Regions from separate parts of the Homo sapiens genome. Here region 2 is linked to region 1. The links are contacts of gene promoters, found by promoter capture Hi-C in human tissues and cell types (Jung and others, 2019). All regions are on one chromosome and are shown on one strand. The core of a region is centred on a gene start or on the middle of the fragment in contact, and the rest is flanking DNA. Distances in the headings are between cores, read along the strand shown.

What was found. Contacts are between HindIII fragments. The study calls those that stand out against the background at their distance.
Region 2: a contact is called between a fragment that was not itself captured here and the fragment with the promoter of CBX1 in region 1, in 1 of the 25 tissues and cell types used here (liver).

The regions. Positions count from the first base shown.
Region 1 is chr17:48,099,715-48,103,206 of GRCh38, forward strand. CBX1 (chromobox 1) reads right to left here and starts at 1,764. Exons shown (of 5, transcript NM_001127228.2): 1 at 1,554-1,764. RefSeq lists enhancers at 1,497-2,096, 1,923-2,182 and a silencer at 1,503-1,552. The HindIII fragment of the contact is 10,755 bases long and covers 1-3,492 here.
Region 2 is chr17:48,341,381-48,344,872 of GRCh38, forward strand. The region is part of intron 4 of SKAP1 (src kinase associated phosphoprotein 1); the gene reads right to left. Among named protein-coding and RNA genes, the nearest start is that of SKAP1-AS2, 49 kb to the left of the region's middle. The HindIII fragment of the contact is 7,800 bases long and covers 1-3,492 here.

The sequences.
Region 1 (3,492 bases), core at 514-3,013:
CCTGGGCTAGGGGTTCTAGTATATAACTGATTATAGCTGAACTTTTTGTAAATTCCACCTCAATTGCGTTAAACCAACACGTCTAAATGTAACACCAATTTATGAAAAACCCTCATTTGAAACTTTGAAAAAGAGGTAAAATATGGCCAGGCGCAGTGGCTCACGCCTATAATCCCAGCACTTTGGGAGGCCGACGCGGGAGGATCACGAGGTCAGGAGTTCGAGACCAGCGTGACCAGTACGGTGAAACCCCGTCTCTACTAAAAATACAAAAATTAGCCGGGCGTGGTGGCGTGTGCCTGTAATCCCAGCTAGTCGGGAGGCTGAGGCAAGAGAATCGCATGAATCCGGGAGGTGGAGGTTGCAGTGAGCCAAGATCGCACCACTGCACTCCAGCCTGGGCAACAGAGGAAGACTCTTCTCAAAAAAAAAAAAAAAAAGAGGTAAAATATAGCTCACTCTATTCAAATTTTCCAACAAGGAAAAGCTGGCTAAAAACAGAAGGGCCCACGAAACAAATATTACCTCACAATCTCACATAATTTTCCTATGTCTCCCAATTTCTCGCACCTCACACGATCTCACAATCTCTCACTACCTCACGCCGTTCCTCAACTATTAACTCATCTACATATTTTTACAATTTCATCACCTTTGTGAGACCAGTTACGATCCCACACAAAAACGTACGGAACTAATTTTGAATCAAAGCAAGAACTGCACTTGGACTTTTTTAACTCCCCAAAGGAATCATGGAGTGAAGGTAGTAGGAAACCTGGAAAACTGAAAAAAGCGTATTCCATCCTTTCTTCGCACATTATTCTTACAGCCTCCCCACTGTAAGGACCCATCAGGATGCAAGGGCGGCCTGCTTTCCCCTTTTTTCTTACATACCTTATAGAAATATTCTCGGGATCTCCGCCCTACTTATCCTAACAGCTCCTCCCCTTCCAGAGTCAGGCCCAGCAAACGCCTGCCCCTCCCCCTCCGTGTCCCCTTTCCCAATTTATTCCACACATCTCCTCCTCCAATCAGCACACCTTGTGCGGCCCTGGGCCCTCTTCCAATTCACTCGACGTTACTCCTCCGTAGTCCTGCAAAGCCAGGTTCCTCTGGCAGTCCCAGCCGGACCCGGCGTCTTCCGAATACAGTTACAAACCTCGGGTTGTGCGGTCGTATGCGCCTCCTCACGCCTATCCAAGCCTCAAGCCTGTCCCCTTCCGCCCTATCCCGCAGCCGCCCAGCCAAGCAACATTGTTCCAGACCACCCGGGCCCCGAAGAGCGGCCCCCAAGTGCTCGGCCCACCCCCAAGCACTCAGTCTCTGGCTCAGGATTCGCGCCCCGCCCTCTCCATCCTTCACGCAGCTGGCACCGACGCCTCAGCGACAGGCGAAGAGCTCAGCGCGGGAAGCGGAGAAGCAGGACGCTGGACCCGGGCGCGCTCCCCGCTCCTAACCTCCGCCTCGAAAGCGCGTTCCCTCACGCAGGGCTCCCGCCGCCGCCGCCGCCGCGCCCCCTCCCCCAGCTCTCCCGCCTCCAGCGGGCTCCTCACCTCAGAGCAGCGCCCAAGAGCCCGAGAGGAATCGGTGCTGCGCTGCTGGCGCGTCGCGTCGGGTCGCCTGGGGGAGTGGCGCCCAGGAAGGCAGCAAGCCGGGTGGCCGCAGTGGCGTCCCTCACTGAAGCGGCGTACCGCAGGCCCCGGCCAACGGCCCTCCCCTCAGCCGAACAAAAGAGCCTCGCAGTCTGCGCTGCCCGCCGCTCGCACCGCGCAGGCGCAACGACCCGCCGCACGGCACCATGGGCCTCGGGGGTCTGTCCAAGACTACAAGGCCCGAAGCGCCGCGCGCCGCGCACGCACAGTAGGCGAGGGTGGTAGGGACTTATAGTTTTTAAACTGTAACGGTGGAGAGATTGCAGCGTAGAGCGTTGTAACCTAGAATATTAGAACATATGGGCCAGGGGCAGTCGCTCACGCCTGTCATCCCAGCACTTTGGGAGGCCGAGGCGGGTGGATCACCTGAGGTCAGGGGTTCGAGACCAGTCTTACCAACAAGGTGAAACCCTGTCTCTACTAAAAATGCAAAAATTAGCCGAGCGTGGTGGCAGGTGCCTGTAGTCCCAGCTACTCAGGAGGCTGAGACAAGAATTGCTTGAACTTGGGAGGCGGAGCTTGCAGTGAGCCGAGATCCAGCCACTGCGATCCAGCCTGGGCGATGGAGCGAGACTCCATCTCAAAAAAAAAAAAAAAAAAAAATTAGAACATATGATTTTTATAAGCGAGCCCCCTGATGCTTGGCCCCCAAAAAATCAACCACTTCTGGACAGTTCTGTAATTCACATCCTCAAAATTTTTGAATCTTAGATTCTTCACCAGAACTTTATCATATCGCCGCTGCCTCAAATTTCCAATGATTTCTTAGTCCTCAATCTCTGCCTCCTCAAATCTCTGTAAAATTCCTACTCACGCCGGCACGGTGGCTCAAGCCTATAATCCCAACACTTGGGGAGGCGGAGGTGGGTGGATCACTTGAGGTCAGGGTTTCAAGACCAGCCTGGCCAACATGGTGAAACCCCATCTCTACTAAAATACAAAAATTAGCTGGGCGTCGTGGCGGGCGCCTGTAGTGCCAGCTACTCGGGAGGCTGAGGGAGGAGAATCGCTTGAACCCAGGAGGTGGAGGTTACAGTGAGCCGAGATCGCGCCATTGCACTCCAGCCTGGGCAACAAGAGCGAAACTTCGTCTAAAAAAAAAAATACTGTTCAGTGTTAAGATTACTTCCCCTTTGAGGTCTTCCCTGATTCCCTAGAGTAGGTTAGGTCCCCCCATAGGCCTCTCATAGCTTCCTGAATTTCCCCCTTTTCACTGGCTGCGCCACAAAAATGTCCTCTTTTTCATTGTAAGTTGTGCTCACCTTTTTCAGTGTCATTAATCTCCGTCAGCACCTTTCACCCAATCATCCCAAGGAAACACACAATTAGGAAAAAAACATGTTTTTAAGCCACAATATAACTAAAGTTTTATTTTTTTATTTTAAAGTATCCTTCTAATCAGGAGGAAGAGGGAAACTCTATTGCACTCTACCCCAAAAGGCAAGAGTTTGCATTTATAAGACAGTTTTGCTGATGCAGGCACTGTTCAGGGCAGGAGTTTGCATTTATAAGACAGTTTTGCTGATGCAGGCACTGTTCACGGCTCTGGAGAACTGTCATGTAAGAAAAACCCAGCCCAGCAATATCATAATAGAGTTTAGTTAAAAGGGCTTCAAGAAAGCACAGAGAAGATGAGAGGTGAAGCCAGCTGGACTTCCTGGGTCGAGTGGGGACTTGGAGAACTTTTCTGTCTTACAAGAGGATTGTGAAATGCACCAATCAGCGCTCTATACCTAGCAAGGGGATTGTAAAATATACCAATCAGCACTCTGTAAAAACACACCAATCAGCCCTCTGTAGCTAGCAAGAGGATTGTAAAATGCACCAATCAGCACTCTGC
Region 2 (3,492 bases), core at 726-3,225, 240 kb after region 1:
AAAAATAAAACCCACAATGATCAACAAAATCTAGTCTATTATTATTCATAATCTTAAATGCAAAATTGACTTGTATTTCAGAACTAAAATGAAAACAGAGAAATGTCTTAAAAGTGCTAAAAATAGCACTGTAAAAAAAGGGTTCTTTTTATTTCCAGAATATTCTCTATATTTTTAAATGTTCTTTTCAGAAATGGCATGGAGTTGAAAATAGCTACTATTGGTACTTTAACATGTTTGCAGTTCCTTTTAAATCAACAAGTATGTAATAAAATCAATCAACAACAGTCTCTTCAGTTATTCATTACTACTCTTTTCCAGTGATAGTTACAGGTCTTTCCTTTTCCAGTTGTTTCTCATTTTGCTGAAGAATAAGAATCTTCTCTAACCTTCAACATCCTGATGCACAAAGAAGCTCTAAAATATTCTCACTTCTATCCAGATTTAATTGTTCAATATCCATTCACCCATTCTTTAATTAGAACGTAAACATATATAACAAATAAATACATTATCATAGATTTTAGGTTTCTTCTAAAATAATTTTATTTTTTCTTTTTCTTCCAGAAGGAGTCACTATATCCTGCTTACAGAATGATCACTTTCCCCAATCCACTTTAAAAAATAATGTAGGTATGCAGGGATTCTTCATTATACTAACAAAGTAAGTTTATAAATACATTAAAATCCACTGTATATTTGGACGCTGAAAACAATCAGATCTTGAGCTTTGTAGTTGCCTGGCTCTTGTACTAAGTATTGTGGTCAGTGTTTCCTACTACATTTTTTTCCTTCCATATGGTAAAAACTATGCTTTTAGTTCAGAAATCTAAATGTTATTACTTGTTAGCAAGTTTTTGTTCCCGATGGTGGGGCTGTGCTCTTGTGGGTGTCTCTCTCTGCCTTCAAATTGTGGGCATTTACAAAGGAAAAGGAGAAGGAATTGTAATTAGGTAGCAACAGGCTCTCATTTTTATGCATGGGTTAGCCTGTAACCTTGGTTTTCATTTTTTGCTGTGTACCTGGCCAGGTTTCTATATTCTTCTAGCACTCTTTGTAGTTTTCACAAAGTCATGACCTAAACACAATATGCAGCATGCTTCTATATTCTTCTAGCACTCTTTGTAGTTTTCACAAAGTCATGACCTAAACACAATATGCAGCATGGTTACTGCCCCTCATCACTAAAATTATGGGTGGATGGGCCCGACTGTGTATCCTTTTATAATGGCAAGTCTAGGATACTACTCTAGCTGACAGTGGAAGACAAAATATCTGAAATATTTTCACATTTTCTAATGAAGACAAAATTCGAGAAGCCTAAAATAACTGTCATTACAAAGAATGTTAAAGAGGAATATCTGGGAGGCCAAGGCGGGTGGATCACGAAGTCAGGAGATCGAGACCATCCTGGCTAACACGGTGAAACCCCGTCTCTACTAAAAATACAAAAAATTAGCCAGGCGCGGTGGCCGGCGCCTATAGTCCCAGCTACTTGGGAGGCTGAGGCAGGAGAATGGCGTGAACCCAGGAGGCAGAGTTTGCAGTGAGCCGAGATCCCACCACTGCACTCTAGCCTGGGTGACAGAGCGAAACTCTGTCTCAAAAAAAATAATAATAAAAAATAAAGAGGAATATTTTTTCTTCATAAATAATTGACTTAGCTATCTATAAAGACACTAACTTTATATTTTTTTATTTGTCTACTTATTAATAGTTTTCCCAGTGAGATGGTAAGCTCCATGAGGGCAGGGACTGTATCTGCTTTCTCACTGCATTTTTCACCTGCAGCTTAACACAGTGTCTTGGTGTTAACTAGGAATCTTTAAACAAACATTTGTTTAAAAAAATGAATAAGTAGCATATCAAGTGTTACCATTCTCTATAATGGTAAAAACTAATTAAATAGGATATAGAGATTGCTAAAAATTTTGACACCTTTATAACTTTCTCTTTAATTTCACAGGAAATGTATGTATCTTTAATTTTCAGGGGATGAAAATGAACATTTATTGTGCCTGTTATGTATTAGGCACTCAGGCACTGTGCTAGATTCAATGCTTTGCAGAAACTCACATTTAAACAGTATCACATCATCTTACAATCAAGTTTTTAACATAGAAATAGGTCTATTCCTACCTCTACCATTGACTATGTCACTTTGGGAATTCTTTAATTTCATGCATAGAACTAAAAACAAAAATTTATTAAGTAAGAATTTAATATTACTAATATAATTAACTCCTCTTATGAGTTTTGCACTTTGGAGTTTTCCAGATTTACCTCTTTCAACACAAATGTTTTTCCTAAATTTCAACTATTTTAATGAAAATATTTTTAAGCATAGTATTTTTATCTGTATGGTCTTAGCCAAAATGTTTGGAGTATGAATCTGCCAAAATGTTTGGAGTATGAATCTATTTTTTTGGATATCTCAGATAAGGATAGTGGTAAGGATAGTAGAGTGGTTAAGAGCAGAGGTTTTAGAACCAGACTATGTATGTGTAAATCCTGGCACTACTACGTACCAGCTGTGTGATTTTAGATAAGTTAACTTCCCTGAGTCTGTTTCCTTGTCTGTAAAATAAGGGTAAACCTAATATCCACATTTTAGGGCAGTCTTGAGGATCAAATGATGACATATGCAGAGTGCTTACCATACAGATGATGCAAGGCAAATAGTAAGTGCTCAATAAACAATAAATGCTGGCTAAAGAAGTTTTAATTTATTAAGGTACTGAGCACTTAGGTGAGCATGCACTCTTTTTCTCTATCATAGAAAATGACCCCAAACTGCTATTTAAAAAAAATTATTCTTAGATAAATTTTATTTATAGATTTTGTTTTCTATATAAAGTTTTGTTCTTGTTTCTTACCTTAATCTTATTGTTAATTGATGCCTTTATAGTACCCCTTCTTCTAATTTGAAGCTCTACTGTGGGCTGAGAAACCAAAACACTGTATTGGTTAGAAACTTGTAAGAAGATTCCTCAGCAAAGGGCCTTAGGGGTTCTTCCAAGAGCAAGGTACATAAGTCACATCTATTTCCACTTAGAGGCCTTTCTGGATTACTTATTGTGTTCTCAGTTGTGTTTGGGAAAGTTGGAAATACCAAATAAGTGACCTAAGGATTAATGAGGCATTATTGTTCTAATTCTGTCAAGCATTAGAATAATCAAAAACAAATGAAAAGTTGATTTCTTCCTGTTTTGCACTGTTAATTTTCTACAATTATTAATCAGCTACCAATGTAATTATTAAACTTTCAATCCAAACAATGTTTTTAGTGTAATACCTGAATCAATACACAGATCCTATATTACAAACCCCATTTTAAAACTTGGGTATTACTAATTGTGCTATTATACAAAATAAAATGTTTCTGTGTGATTCAACCCCCAGTTCTTATGTGGAGGTTATCAAGTCAGTGAAAGGGAAAAAAAACATGAATTGTCAAAAGGGCTAAATGAAATAACAATCAATGGATAAAGT